Regions from separate parts of the Homo sapiens genome. Here regions 1, 3 and 4 are each linked to region 2. The links are contacts of gene promoters, found by promoter capture Hi-C in blood cells and fetal thymus (Javierre and others, 2016). All regions are on one chromosome and are shown on one strand. Each heading gives the region's core, a stretch centred on a gene start or on the middle of the fragment in contact. The rest is flanking DNA. Distances are from core to core; before and after follow the strand shown. Region 1 has its middle 140 kb from the start of GRASLND. Region 2 holds the start of CMPK2 (cytidine/uridine monophosphate kinase 2). Region 3 overlaps RNF144A (ring finger protein 144A). Region 4 overlaps LOC101929452 (a long non-coding RNA gene).

What was found. The method cuts DNA at HindIII sites, captures the fragments that hold promoters and counts their contacts. A CHiCAGO score of 5 or more calls a contact.
Region 1: a contact is called between a fragment that was not itself captured here and the fragment with the promoter of CMPK2 in region 2, in 10 of 17 cell types (activated CD4 T cells, non-activated CD4 T cells, fetal thymus and 7 more). The highest score is 17.5, in activated CD4 T cells.
Region 3: a contact is called between a fragment that was not itself captured here and the fragment with the promoter of CMPK2 in region 2, in 4 of 17 cell types (erythroblasts, activated CD4 T cells, non-activated CD4 T cells and 1 more). The highest score is 9.5, in erythroblasts.
Region 4: a contact is called between a fragment that was not itself captured here and the fragment with the promoter of CMPK2 in region 2, in 1 of 17 cell types (non-activated CD4 T cells). The highest score is 5.1, in non-activated CD4 T cells.

The regions. Positions count from the first base shown.
Region 1 is chr2:7,055,046-7,057,936 of GRCh38, reverse strand. It overlaps a transcript of RNF144A not described here. Among named protein-coding and RNA genes, the nearest start is that of GRASLND, 140 kb to the right of the region's middle. The HindIII fragment of the contact is 2,674 bases long and covers 27-2,700 here.
Region 2 is chr2:6,864,566-6,867,481 of GRCh38, reverse strand. CMPK2 (cytidine/uridine monophosphate kinase 2) reads left to right here and starts at 1,575. Exons shown (of 5, transcript NM_207315.4): 1 at 1,575-2,460. The coding sequence starts at 1,786. It also overlaps a transcript of RSAD2 not described here. RefSeq lists silencers at 1,315-1,584, 1,825-2,264 and an enhancer at 1,585-1,804. The HindIII fragment of the contact is 2,067 bases long and covers 1,048-2,916 here.
Region 3 is chr2:7,015,497-7,018,489 of GRCh38, reverse strand. All of the region lies in intron 5 of RNF144A (ring finger protein 144A), which reads right to left. Among named protein-coding and RNA genes, the nearest start is that of GRASLND, 98 kb to the right of the region's middle. RefSeq lists an enhancer at 823-1,322. The HindIII fragment of the contact is 6,199 bases long and covers 1-2,993 here.
Region 4 is chr2:7,074,641-7,077,348 of GRCh38, reverse strand. It overlaps LOC101929452 (a long non-coding RNA gene), which reads left to right. Exons shown (of 3, transcript NR_110252.1): 2 at 303-467. It also overlaps a transcript of RNF144A not described here. Among named protein-coding and RNA genes, the nearest start is that of GRASLND, 160 kb to the right of the region's middle. The HindIII fragment of the contact is 2,520 bases long and covers 178-2,697 here.

The DNA of each region.
Region 1 (2,891 bases), core at 114-2,613, 190 kb before region 2:
TCCAGTTCCTCTTCCTCCAGGAAGCTTCTCAAAATACTACTGCCTCTTTGCTGACTACATTGTGTCCACTAATAAATCTCTGCTTAACATTTGATCCCTGGGCAGATTTCTATGAGAAAATATACCAAGATTTTTTTCAATTTTTATCTATTCACTCCAAGCAATTATGATGATGGTATGGCTATCTAAAATGTATTCAATTTGATGCACAGCAACTAGAATTTGATAATTCCAGGATTGTTAGGCATTGTAAGATCTTAACTCCAATCTCCACATGATGAATGGAACCTCTCTCCTGCATGAAAGGTGAATAGTAGCTTCCTCATCTATTATTCTTATACCATCCAAGAGAGCCATCAGATGGGAGTTACTTTAATATTTGGCAAACTAAAAAAACTTGAGAATCAGAGAAGGGAGTGCATTTCCAAGTGCATCTAGCTAGCAAATGAATTGAGGATGACATCCCAGGTCTCCTGACTGTCTAACATCTTACTGCCTCTGCTACACCCTTGCCAAGGGACTCCCCAATTTCCTCCAGATTAGAAAGTCCTTCCTCATTAAGCTGTCCCTAAACCTTGCATCTGGCATGGAACACAGAGCGCTCACTCAGGAGGTATTTATTGAGCCTCTAAGAGGTACCAGGTGCTGCAATAGAGCTGGGCTAGACTTTACTTAGAAAAACAGGTTAATCATCAATAACTTAGGATCTATTGTAAATAAGTACAATGCAATTCATTGTTTCAATCTGTTGTATAGGGTATATAGAAAGGTCTGTATGGCACAGAGACAGAGCATGACAGCTTTAAACCTCTAATTTTCCACTACTAAAGCTGTATAATAGTCCCCATAAGCATCCCTTCTCACCTCCTGTTGATGTATGGGCAGTTTCTCTGATAAACACCAGACTGGCAGGACCCCCTGGGGGTGAGATCCAGCAGACCCTGGCAAGGAACGTCAGGGTCCTCAGCAGATGGAGGCTCCAAAGAACTAAGAGCCCCAAGGTGAGGGGCTGAAATGCTGTTCCAGGCAGACAGACTGCCGGGGAGTTTTTGGTGCACATATTTAATATTGTCCTCACTGCAATGGAAGCAGGCGCATGAGATACACAAACAAGGAAGCCACAAGGAGATGCCTCCAAAGTAGGTATTGAGGCAAGAGAAGAGAAGGCCACAACTGGGGGGGAGACCATGGAATTTGAATCAAGTGTGGGCCCCAAGGACTGAACAAAATGTGTAGTGGGGATTCCCTAACACAGGGGAGGGAACACTTGAGGGCAGCAGCAGGAAATGCCATTGGGAGGATATTGAAAACCCGAAAAGTGGAATGGGGCCAGTGCTGCAGGAACCATAACTGGAATGACCTAGAAGAGAGTTAAGAGCCAAGATACCCTCAGATTGAGAATGGTGGGTGGGCTGAGGAGGGATGGTTGGTGTGTGGCTGAAGTACTCAAGATAAATCAGTGCATTGACATATGAATTTGGGGGGATGGAGGAATGACACAATTCAGTCTATAACAGTCATAAGTGGCAGAGGAGAGACATGTCCCAAGATAAGGAGGGAGGTTCACAGTTGCCTGAGAAATTGATGGTAGCATGGGAGAAGTTAGGTTGTAAGGGAAGCACAGAGGGCACATCTTACCATGGGTGTGGGATGACAGGAAGCAAGTTCAGTCTGGCATAGAGAGACCTTCGAAGGAGACCAACAGTGAGCATGTCAGAAAGGGTATAGTAAGATCAGAACGGCCACCATGAGGCTTTCCTCCACCTGGCTAGTGCATTTTATAGGCTTCCCAATTTGTAAGAGAACCAAGACCACAGAGAAATAAAGTCATTAACTCTAATGCTAAAATCAGTTTTATGGGTGAGAAATTCCCAGCAAACCACTGGGCTAGGGCTGGGGAAGGAAATAAAGCCTTTACCTAGTCTTCTGACTAGTTACTGGGCAGAGCAGAGGCTCCATAAGGACCCTCACTAGACGTCAGTAGGTTACAGAGTGTGCATGCTCGCCCAGCATCTGGGTAGGAAGGTCTAAACAATGAGAGGAAGCAAGTGACAAGGTAAGTCACTTGCTCTGAGGAAAGTCCTAGAGACCTGCACAGGACAGTGCTAGTTTTGCTCCGTGGATGCTTTTTGTGAACTCCATTCTCCACTGGTAAGAAAAAACCTGGGATTTTCAGTTTAATTCCTGAGAATCAACTTAGAATCATAGGCATGAATGAAATTTGGAACTGTGAATGTTTGGTCTGGGAAAGTGCAGACTTAATAAATGGTACCTGCTGGGGTTTCAGACTCACCTGTGCAGTAGCCTACACAGGAGTGGGTAATGGCTTTGCTTAGACTCTCCTGGCCATGCAAATGGTAAGATATAAACATGCTGGGGAGGTATTTAGGGGTAAAATTGAAAACTTAGTGAAAGATTAGATGTGTGAGTGCTAAAGAGGTCAGTGTCAAGAATGGTTTTGAGAAGGAACAGTGGAGAGGATGGCGGTGTCAGTACTAAGTTATGGAGCTGCAGGGAAGGAGTAGGCTAAAGGTGGTATAATGGTTTCAAACATTAATTTGGGAGCAGGTGTAATTTTAAGAACTTTTGAGACCAAATCAAGATGCAATACTGAGCATGAACCATTCAGTGTGTGAAACTGCAGCTCAGAGAAACAGTTTCAGCTGGGTAGGTTGGGGGCATTGCCTGGAAAAGAAAGCTTACTGAGAAGAGCTACAAGGCTCAGGATTGAATAATTCCATCATTTGCAAAGCTTAGAAGAGAAGAGAAGGCACAAAGCAGGCTGAGAAAAAAATTGCCAGAAAGGTGGGAAGGAAACTGGGAGAGTGAGAGCTACAGGACAGTAAAGGAAGGGAGAGCATTTCAAAGAGGAGGTGCCAGCCTGTCAATGC
Region 2 (2,916 bases), core at 326-2,825:
TAGGTGATTACATTAAAATGAGAACATTATGATGGGCCCTAACCCAATCTGACTGGTGTCCTTCCCAGAAGAGGAAATTTGGAACTTCAAGGAGACGCCAAGGATGCAAGCACAAAGGAAAGGTCCCGTGAGAACACAGAGAGAAGGAGGCGGTCTGCACGCTAGAAAGAGAGGCCTCAGAAAAAGCAAACCCTGCTGGCAACTTGATCTCCAGCTTCTCTGGCCACCTGAACTTTGAGAAAACAAATTTTCTATTGTTTAGGCGGCCCAGTCCGTGGTATTTTGTTATGGCAGCCAGGATAGACTAATACATCCAGAGAGGTGGATGGCATAGGGAAAAGGTCAAGCAGGCTTGAGGATGCAGTACTGTCTTAGAGAAGAAAAGGGAGTAACTAGAAGACTCTTACTTCCATATACTACATACACGTGAAACCACCGGTACATGCTAAATGTCCAAAAGTGAAATTCCTGAGAAAGAATAAAAACTATTCTATTCTCAAAGAGCTAAAAAATTTTAAACTCCTAATTCTTCTTTCTTCTTAGCCTATTAACCCACACTCCAACCACCTATCTATATTTCACGTTTGTTAAGACTTTTTTTTTCAGAATTAAATATAATCCCAAGTTTAAGTCCAATACTATTAAGACATAAAAAAAAAACTGCTTTCAGCTCATCTAATGTTTTCAATCTTCGTCTCAATTCTATTTTTTTGAGAGAGTTTCCCTGGAGAATATTATCTTTTTGTTTGTTTTTGGTTTGCTTGACATCATTTTTAAAAGGCATCAGTTAATGAGTAAACACAGAATAAAATATCCAAATAACTGCGCAAACACTGTTACACTGTTAGGCAGTTACACTGTTAGGCAGCAACAGTGCTGATGCTGGACTGTGGCAGGCAGAGGGTGCTATCCTGACACACTTCACCTTAGTGCAGGAAACTTCAATTTGGTGGAAGAAAGGCGATTTCGAGGTGCCAATCTGGGCGACACTTCCCAGTTGGAGAGTCAGCAAAAGGGAGAGGGCAATTCCAAGAAGAGGGAAAAGCTTGTGCACAGGTGAGTGTGTGCAAAGGTGAGTGTGTGCACAGGTGAGTGAGTGCACAGGTGAGATAAGATACAGGAGAGGGAAGAGCCAGAACTGCGCCCTGTTCCCGCAGGAAAGCAGCTCTGCAGGATTAGAGGGGCGGGGACGCGTGGTCAGAGCTAGGAGTTGAGGTCGGGGAGGGAGCCCATGGTCTGCAGGGCCTGGTCAGTCATCCAAGGGCAGTAGTGCGCCTGCAAGTGGGCGTTGAAGAGCCCGTTACACCGGGAAGGGACTTCTCTGTCCCTCGCGCGTGCACCCCCGCCCCCCTCCATGCACCCGGCATAAGCCGCAGAGGAGGAACTCAAACCAGGGTCGGGGCCGCCAGCCACCCGCAGAACGCACACGGAGCTACCTTGGGGCCGACGGCGCGGGGCCTCATTCGGTGTCAGCCCCGGGAGCCGGCGCCTGGGGACCGCGCAGGCCCGCGGAGCCGCGCACCTGGGGCCCCGGGGCCAAGCGTCTGCTCCCGAGCGCCGGCCGTTTATCGCGCACATCTCGCGGCGAGGAGGAGAGGCCGGAAGGGCGCCCCAGCCCCAGGGCTCCTGCCCCGCCTGGGCCTCCGGCTTTCGTTTCCCCGCAACGCTTCGCTTTCGTTTCCCGCTGGCGCCTGGCTCCCTCCGGGTTTCGTTTCCCGCCGGCGCCTGGCTCCCGCCAGGTTTCGTTTCCGAGGCGGGGCCGAGGGCGGCGTCGCTGAGGCGCCCATGGCCTTCGCCCGCCGGCTCCTGCGCGGGCCACTGTCGGGGCCGCTGCTCGGGCGGCGCGGGGTCTGCGCTGGGGCCATGGCTCCGCCGCGCCGCTTCGTCCTGGAGCTTCCCGACTGCACCCTGGCTCACTTCGCCCTAGGCGCCGACGCCCCCGGCGACGCAGACGCCCCCGACCCCCGCCTGGCGGCGCTGCTGGGGCCCCCGGAGCGCAGCTACTCGCTGTGCGTGCCCGTGACCCCGGACGCCGGCTGCGGGGCCCGGGTCCGGGCGGCGCGGCTGCACCAGCGCCTGCTGCACCAGCTGCGCCGCGGCCCCTTCCAGCGGTGCCAGCTGCTCAGGCTGCTCTGCTACTGCCCGGGCGGCCAGGCCGGCGGCGCACAGCAAGGCTTCCTGCTGCGCGACCCCCTGGATGACCCTGACACCCGGCAAGCGCTGCTCGAGCTGCTGGGCGCCTGTCAGGAGGCACCACGCCCGCACTTGGGCGAGTTCGAGGCCGACCCGCGCGGCCAGCTGTGGCAGCGCCTCTGGGAGGTGCAAGACGGCAGGCGGCTGCAGGTGGGCTGCGCACAGGTCGTGCCCGTCCCGGAGCCCCCGCTGCACCCGGTGGTGCCAGACTTGCCCAGTTCCGTGGTCTTCCCGGACCGGGAAGCCGCCCGGGCCGTTTTGGAGGAGGTAAGAGTTCTGTCCGCTTCCAGCTCCCAGCGTGGCATCTGAACCCTTCAGACCAGAGAACTGGACCAAGAGGCTGGTCTGTAGAGCCGGTTCTTGCCTGGGTGGTTTGTTTATTTCCGTTCACAAATCAGGTAGGGAAGGTGTCCTGTATGCCAGGCAACTCTTTTAAGATTCTTGTTTGCAAGGATCTTCCAACCTGACGTGGAACATAGACCTACACCAAGCCACGCGATGCTTGCTGTAAAAGCATCCCAACAGCAGTACAGAGGGAGTAAAGGGGCTGCCGGGAGTGAGGGAAAATAATGTCAGCTGGGAAGTAATTTTATTTGCTGATGATCACCATTCAAGGATCTTGGGGTGAAAAAGAAAATGCATGAGTTTAGGGGGTTTAAGAAATTTAGACTTAAATAGTGTTTACCTACCGACTGGCCATGAACCTTGTGCAGGTTACTCAAC
Region 3 (2,993 bases), core at 207-2,706, 150 kb before region 2:
AGGAGGAAACGCCAAAGGCTAAAGGCAGCTGGCCTGGGTCATGCTCCCATCCCGTCCCCGCGATGCCTCCGACAACTCTCTGCCTGCCCTCTGTGAGTGCTGTGGGGTGAGCCCAGCTTTGTCCCTGATGAGATAGGAGGCCCATGTCTGCCCAGCCCTGCGGGAGGGTGCAAGTGCTGTGTGCACTAAACAACACGCTGCGCGGGAAGAGAAATCCTCACCCGCTCTTTGCTCTCCTCCCGATATAGCTCTGAGGCTAGATCCAGAAGGGCAGCGCTGCCTGCTAGGGACCCTTCCGTCTCACTGCTGTCCCCACCTCTCCTGTGCAGTAGGAGCTTCTGACATCAGCAAGGAGCAGACATCCCAAAGCTGGGTCTCGGTCTCTTCATGCACGTGATTTGTCATGCACCACCTCCTGTCCACCCTCCTGGCTCAACAGTGGGGGATGCTATTAAGCATCCCCATCACAAAAGGCCCCCCAGGATAGCACACAGGGGAGACCTGGCTAAGGTTTCCATGGGAACGATTTAAATCTTATTAGTTTTGTCCTCATATAGCTGTGACACGGCACTGCCTGTCCTCACATGGAGAGATTCCCTATCGAAAAGGTCAGGGACAAACGGCCGCTCTGACTGCAGACTGCAAATGTCCTTCCTGTGCTGCCGGGGCATGTCACACCCTGTGAACATGGCCCCAGGCTGAGGCGTAGATGTCTATTAACATTCTGCATTATCCTCCCCAATCTACACACGTGTGTGTATGAGACATATTTTCAAACAAAGCAAATGATATGCTTTTTGGCACACTAGAGGAAACTAATGTTAACTCTTCTCTCCCAGAGGCGTATTCATGGCAGATTAATGAAGCAGGTCTCTTAAGAACTCCCTGCTTAAAAATGCATAAAACTTTTTAAAAAGGTGGCTTTCCTTTTAAAACAGTTTCCTTTCAGAAGTACATGACAGAGAACGATGCACCCAGCATCCCCTCTCATCCCTGCACTTACTACCCTGCCCGGCGGGCTGGTGCCTGGTGCAGGGCTGGGATGGTGGGTTTGATCCTGCTGTGAGATGGCAACATTTTCAGGAGTCGGCTCTAGTCAGGCCTGATTACAGGTGGATAACCCATCGTATTATTTAATCTCTCTGAGCTTTACTTTAAAAAAAAAAAACAAAGAACAAAAAAAAAAACAATACACGGTTGACATCTGACATCAGCATTCACTTGGCCAGGCACTGGGCTGGCATGGGACGAAGGCATGAGGACCCACAGTCCTGTCTCTGGGAGGGCTGAGCCTCCAGATAGAGGCAGGTGCACAGCAACGCCCTTAGCACAGCACCGCTGGGTCTCAGAGGGCCACGGGCGTCGAGTGTAGCATGAGAGAGGGGTCCACGCAGCAAGAGGCATCCACACCCCCTCGCTCAAGAATCTGTCCCTACCCAGACTCTGGAGTGAGCCAGTTGTGAGGAGGTGTTCAGAATGAAAACTCAGCTTCCTGGCCCCCTTCCCTGGCTTCCTGCTTGCCCCAGAGCTCCAGAAGGGGAAGACATTGACGCTAAAACCAAGGCTGTTATATCAGAGGAGACATTCTAAGACTAAGTGCAGACAGTGTGCGCAACATGACCTAACCATAGAACTTTCTGGTAACTCAATGTTTTCAGAAAATCATTGAACTGTCTCAGTTTTCTTCCAGGGCGTCCTCTACTTGACTAGATTTTAGAGCCATAGAGACAGTCAAAATTTGCTTTCTGATCTTGTCTCCAAACTCTTTCAAGGTGCTGGCTATAATCCATAACTATATTTTAGCTCTGACATTCTAACGTTTTATCTAGACAGGTCTTTTATAGTATGAAGTCTGAATACTTAAAAAAAAAAAAACTTTGAACATAATGTTAGTAAAATGCTTTAAAGGGAGAGGCTTGAGAGATTTTTTTTTTTTAACAGAAGCCAAGTTGGCTTCATGTTTATGCAAAAGGAAAAAAGATTTTCTGACTAAGCCAAAGTACTAAAGAAATAACAGTTAAAATTATTAGGTTGAAAAATGTACCCAGCTGCATTTTTAAATTAAATTCAATGTCATAGAAAGTTCATATTCTTGTAACGCAAACAACAGCCAGTTTCTGTCAAGATTCTCTCTGGAAAATATTCTCAGAAGAGCCTGAAAGTCTCAGAAGTCTAAATTAATCAATTTTATTGCCCTACGTACTGACTTTTGTACCAAATGGCATTATATTAAAGCTATAAACTGCCCCAAAGCAAATGATATACGACACTTTAATAAACACACTCTTGAAAACAAATGTCAATGCCATGAAAAATGCTGTTTGAGTTTTTTTTTAAGTGGGCTACATATTTTTTTCTTTTTCTTTCTTTTTTTTTTTTTTTTTTAGAGACGGGGTCTCAATATGTTGCCCAGGCTGGACTTGAACTCCTGAGTAGTTGAGACTATAGGTACATGCCACTGGGCCCAGCTATCTCTAGCATTTCTTTTAGAAAGCAAAAATATACAAACAACAGGTCTCTGCATGCAGCTAAACTGGGAGTCTCTGGATATTGTCCTCTGGTCTCCTCTGCCGTCCACTCCCCATCCGGCCATGTTTTCATGTAAGCCCACCCTCCAGGGCTGTGTCTCAGTGGTGAGACCCTGCTCAGGTCAAGAACCCGAGAATCAGTGCAGGGAGAGGGAGAGCAGATGCCAGCAATCCAAACTCAGAATCCGCCTGCAAGGTCCACACAATGATGTTCTGCATATGGAGTGTCGCCTGCACACATCTGTCACTCTGCTCTTTACCAGACAAGCCTGGGGCCCAGAATAGATATGAAAACAAAGCCAAAGAGAGTCCACAGACTCTTTACAGTTTCATTGTATGACCCCGGAGTATTTCAGAGAGCAGAGCTAAAGACCTCTCCTGGACATTCCACATGGCTTAATGCTTTGCAATATTATCCTGAGAATCATGTTCTGCTCTGTGTGCACCTGCCACACTGCTCTCCCA
Region 4 (2,708 bases), core at 188-2,687, 210 kb before region 2:
AGGTCATTTCCCAATTAATTTACAAAGTACATTTGTTGGAAAATTGTCTCTGCCTGTAATCACCTTCATTCTTTTGTCTGATCAGTAAATACTTTATCTTTCACGATTCAGTTTAAACATTGGCTCCTCTGGGAAAATTCTGTCCCTCCACCACCATTATACTTACCATAAGAAGCTTATTCTATTATAACTTCTTATTCACAGGGTGATGAAACCATTCAGCATTAGTTTGCATGTCTCTTTATCATTACTATCCTATTGCGTTCTAAGCATTTGCTCACCCATCTTTCTCTGTCTTCTAGACCAGCTTCCGCAGGAATGAACCCAGAAAACAGTCTACAACTATATTTCCAGCACAGGGGCTGGCACACACTGAGTGCTGAACTGAACTGAACAGATGCTGTAAGCAAGAAAGAGTCAAATTTTGCAAGATTTTACTGAGGAGGAAGGCACTACCTCAAAGCCAGGTATTGTATATGAGTTATTCTGCTGTCATAAACCATGACTGGCACTAGCTACAGGCACCCCTGCAGGATGGGCTTCCCCACAGCATGTCCCACAGGACATCCATGGCCAATGAACTGTTGCTAATTCACAATAACTCCTGAGATGTATGTGTTAGGATGGGTGATGCTACAGACCCCCCTGCCTCCCTGCATGAACTGTATACAGGGTTGTATGCACCCACTGGTGTGCCAAGTGGTTCAGAAACTGACTTATGAACTAACTGGGAGTTATTCTTCTGATAATTGCTTACCTTGTGCTACTTTAAATTTTCTCTAATAATATTCAGGAGGACTTAGTATAACCACACTAATGGGGTTTCAAAAGGTTTTGTTTCATCTCCACAGTCTAGCTGAAATAGCATCCTATTGATTGGCAATATGTACCAGGAATCTTTAAAGTGTTTTTGGTCCCCTTTGAACCATCTATTCGCTTTCCGTGAAACTCCTAAGGTAGCAATCAGGCTAGCAAAAAATATAGTGTGGCAACAGAATCATTTATAATCCAAAAATGGGAAAACAACCAAGCTATATTTACAAATAATTTCTAGTAAAGTAAGAAATTGCAGTATCATTTTAGTACAAAATAGAAATCAATTATATTGACAATGAATTTCTTATACAGTAACACATATTTAATATTAGAAAAAAACTGTCAACCACACAGGCCATCTTCCCCTCAGCAAGCCCTAGGGAAAGGGCTTGGAGTTTTAAGCATGGACATCCAGGAAACTGCTCCATGTGCATACAGAAACACAGGGAGGCTCAATGCAGCATTGATTTTGCAATTAAGAAAAATTAGAAACAAATGTTCATCAAAACAGCATGATGCAATAATTATAGTTATTCACAACATACACAATAAGGAGCAGAGATTTTTCAAACTTTTTTGACCACAAAGTACAGTAAGAAACACATTTTACAGGGTGAACCAGTAATGGCAGATTACGCTTTCCAAGGAGGCCTCAACAATATGACCTGTTTCACATGTCCCCCCTTCCCCTTAGACTTGAGCAACCTTTGCAACTGGCTTGGTCAGTAGCATATAGTGGAAGTGATGCCATGTGTCTTTCAAGGCTGAATGTCTTAATCCATTTTCTGTTGCCATATAGAACACCTGAGACTGGGTAATTTATAAAAAATAGAGGTAATTTTACTCACAGTTCTGGAGGCTGAAAAGTCCAAGATCAGGTGGCTGCATCTGGTGAGAACCTTTCTGCTTTGTCATGACACGGCAGGAGGCATCAAATCACTAAAAAAGCAAATGTGCTATCTAAGGTCTTTCTTCCTCTTCTTATAAAGCCACCAGTTGCATCATGAGGGCCCTGATGACCTTATCTATTTCTAATTGCCTCTTTAAAACCCCACTTCCAAACACCATCAACATATAAATTTAGAGATTTAGAGATTAAGTTTCCAACACACGAAATTTTGGGAGAGATGTTCAATCCATAGCACTGTGTCATAAAAATGCTAACACTTTAGCCTTATTCACCTGGAGCCCATCATGCTGGGAGGAAGCTCAAACTGGCCCATGAGAAGAGAACACTGTGTGGGGGGGGGGATGTTCCAGCTGATAGCCCAGCTGAGGCCCCAGCTGCCATTAATCATGAGATAGAAATAAAGATGCCTCCTGATGATTCTGGTGGGAGAGTGGGGTAGAAGAGGAAAGATGTCTTCCCAACATTTTATTATTCCCATCTGGGGCTGCAGATGTCATGGAGCAGAGGTGAGCCATCCACCATCCACACTGTGCCTTGCCCAACTTCTAATCTGTAGAATCCATGGGTATAAAAAAAGTTTTGGGAAGGTTAGTAGCAATTGTACCTGGAATGCAAGTATTTGCAACAGAAATAAAACTTTTACTAATAATTCTTACACTTAAAAATTTTCAAGTCATGCTATAGAAAAAAATTGAGAACCTCCTCTTCCATGTCATTCTTTGATCACTCAATCCCATCTCGTTCAAATAAATTCTAAAGATACAGGGATTCCTTCCTTCCCCCCCTCCTTCTTTCTTCCCTTCTCTCCTTCCTTTCTTCCATCCTTTTTTCCTTCCTTCCTTCCTTTTTTTCTTCCTTTCTCTTCTTCCACCTAGAAATACTCATTGTTCACCTCCTATGTTTCAGGTACTCTGCTCAGTGTGGGGACTCTAGGAGTGACATAGACACAGATGTTTCTTCCCCACAAAGCTTATAACCCAGA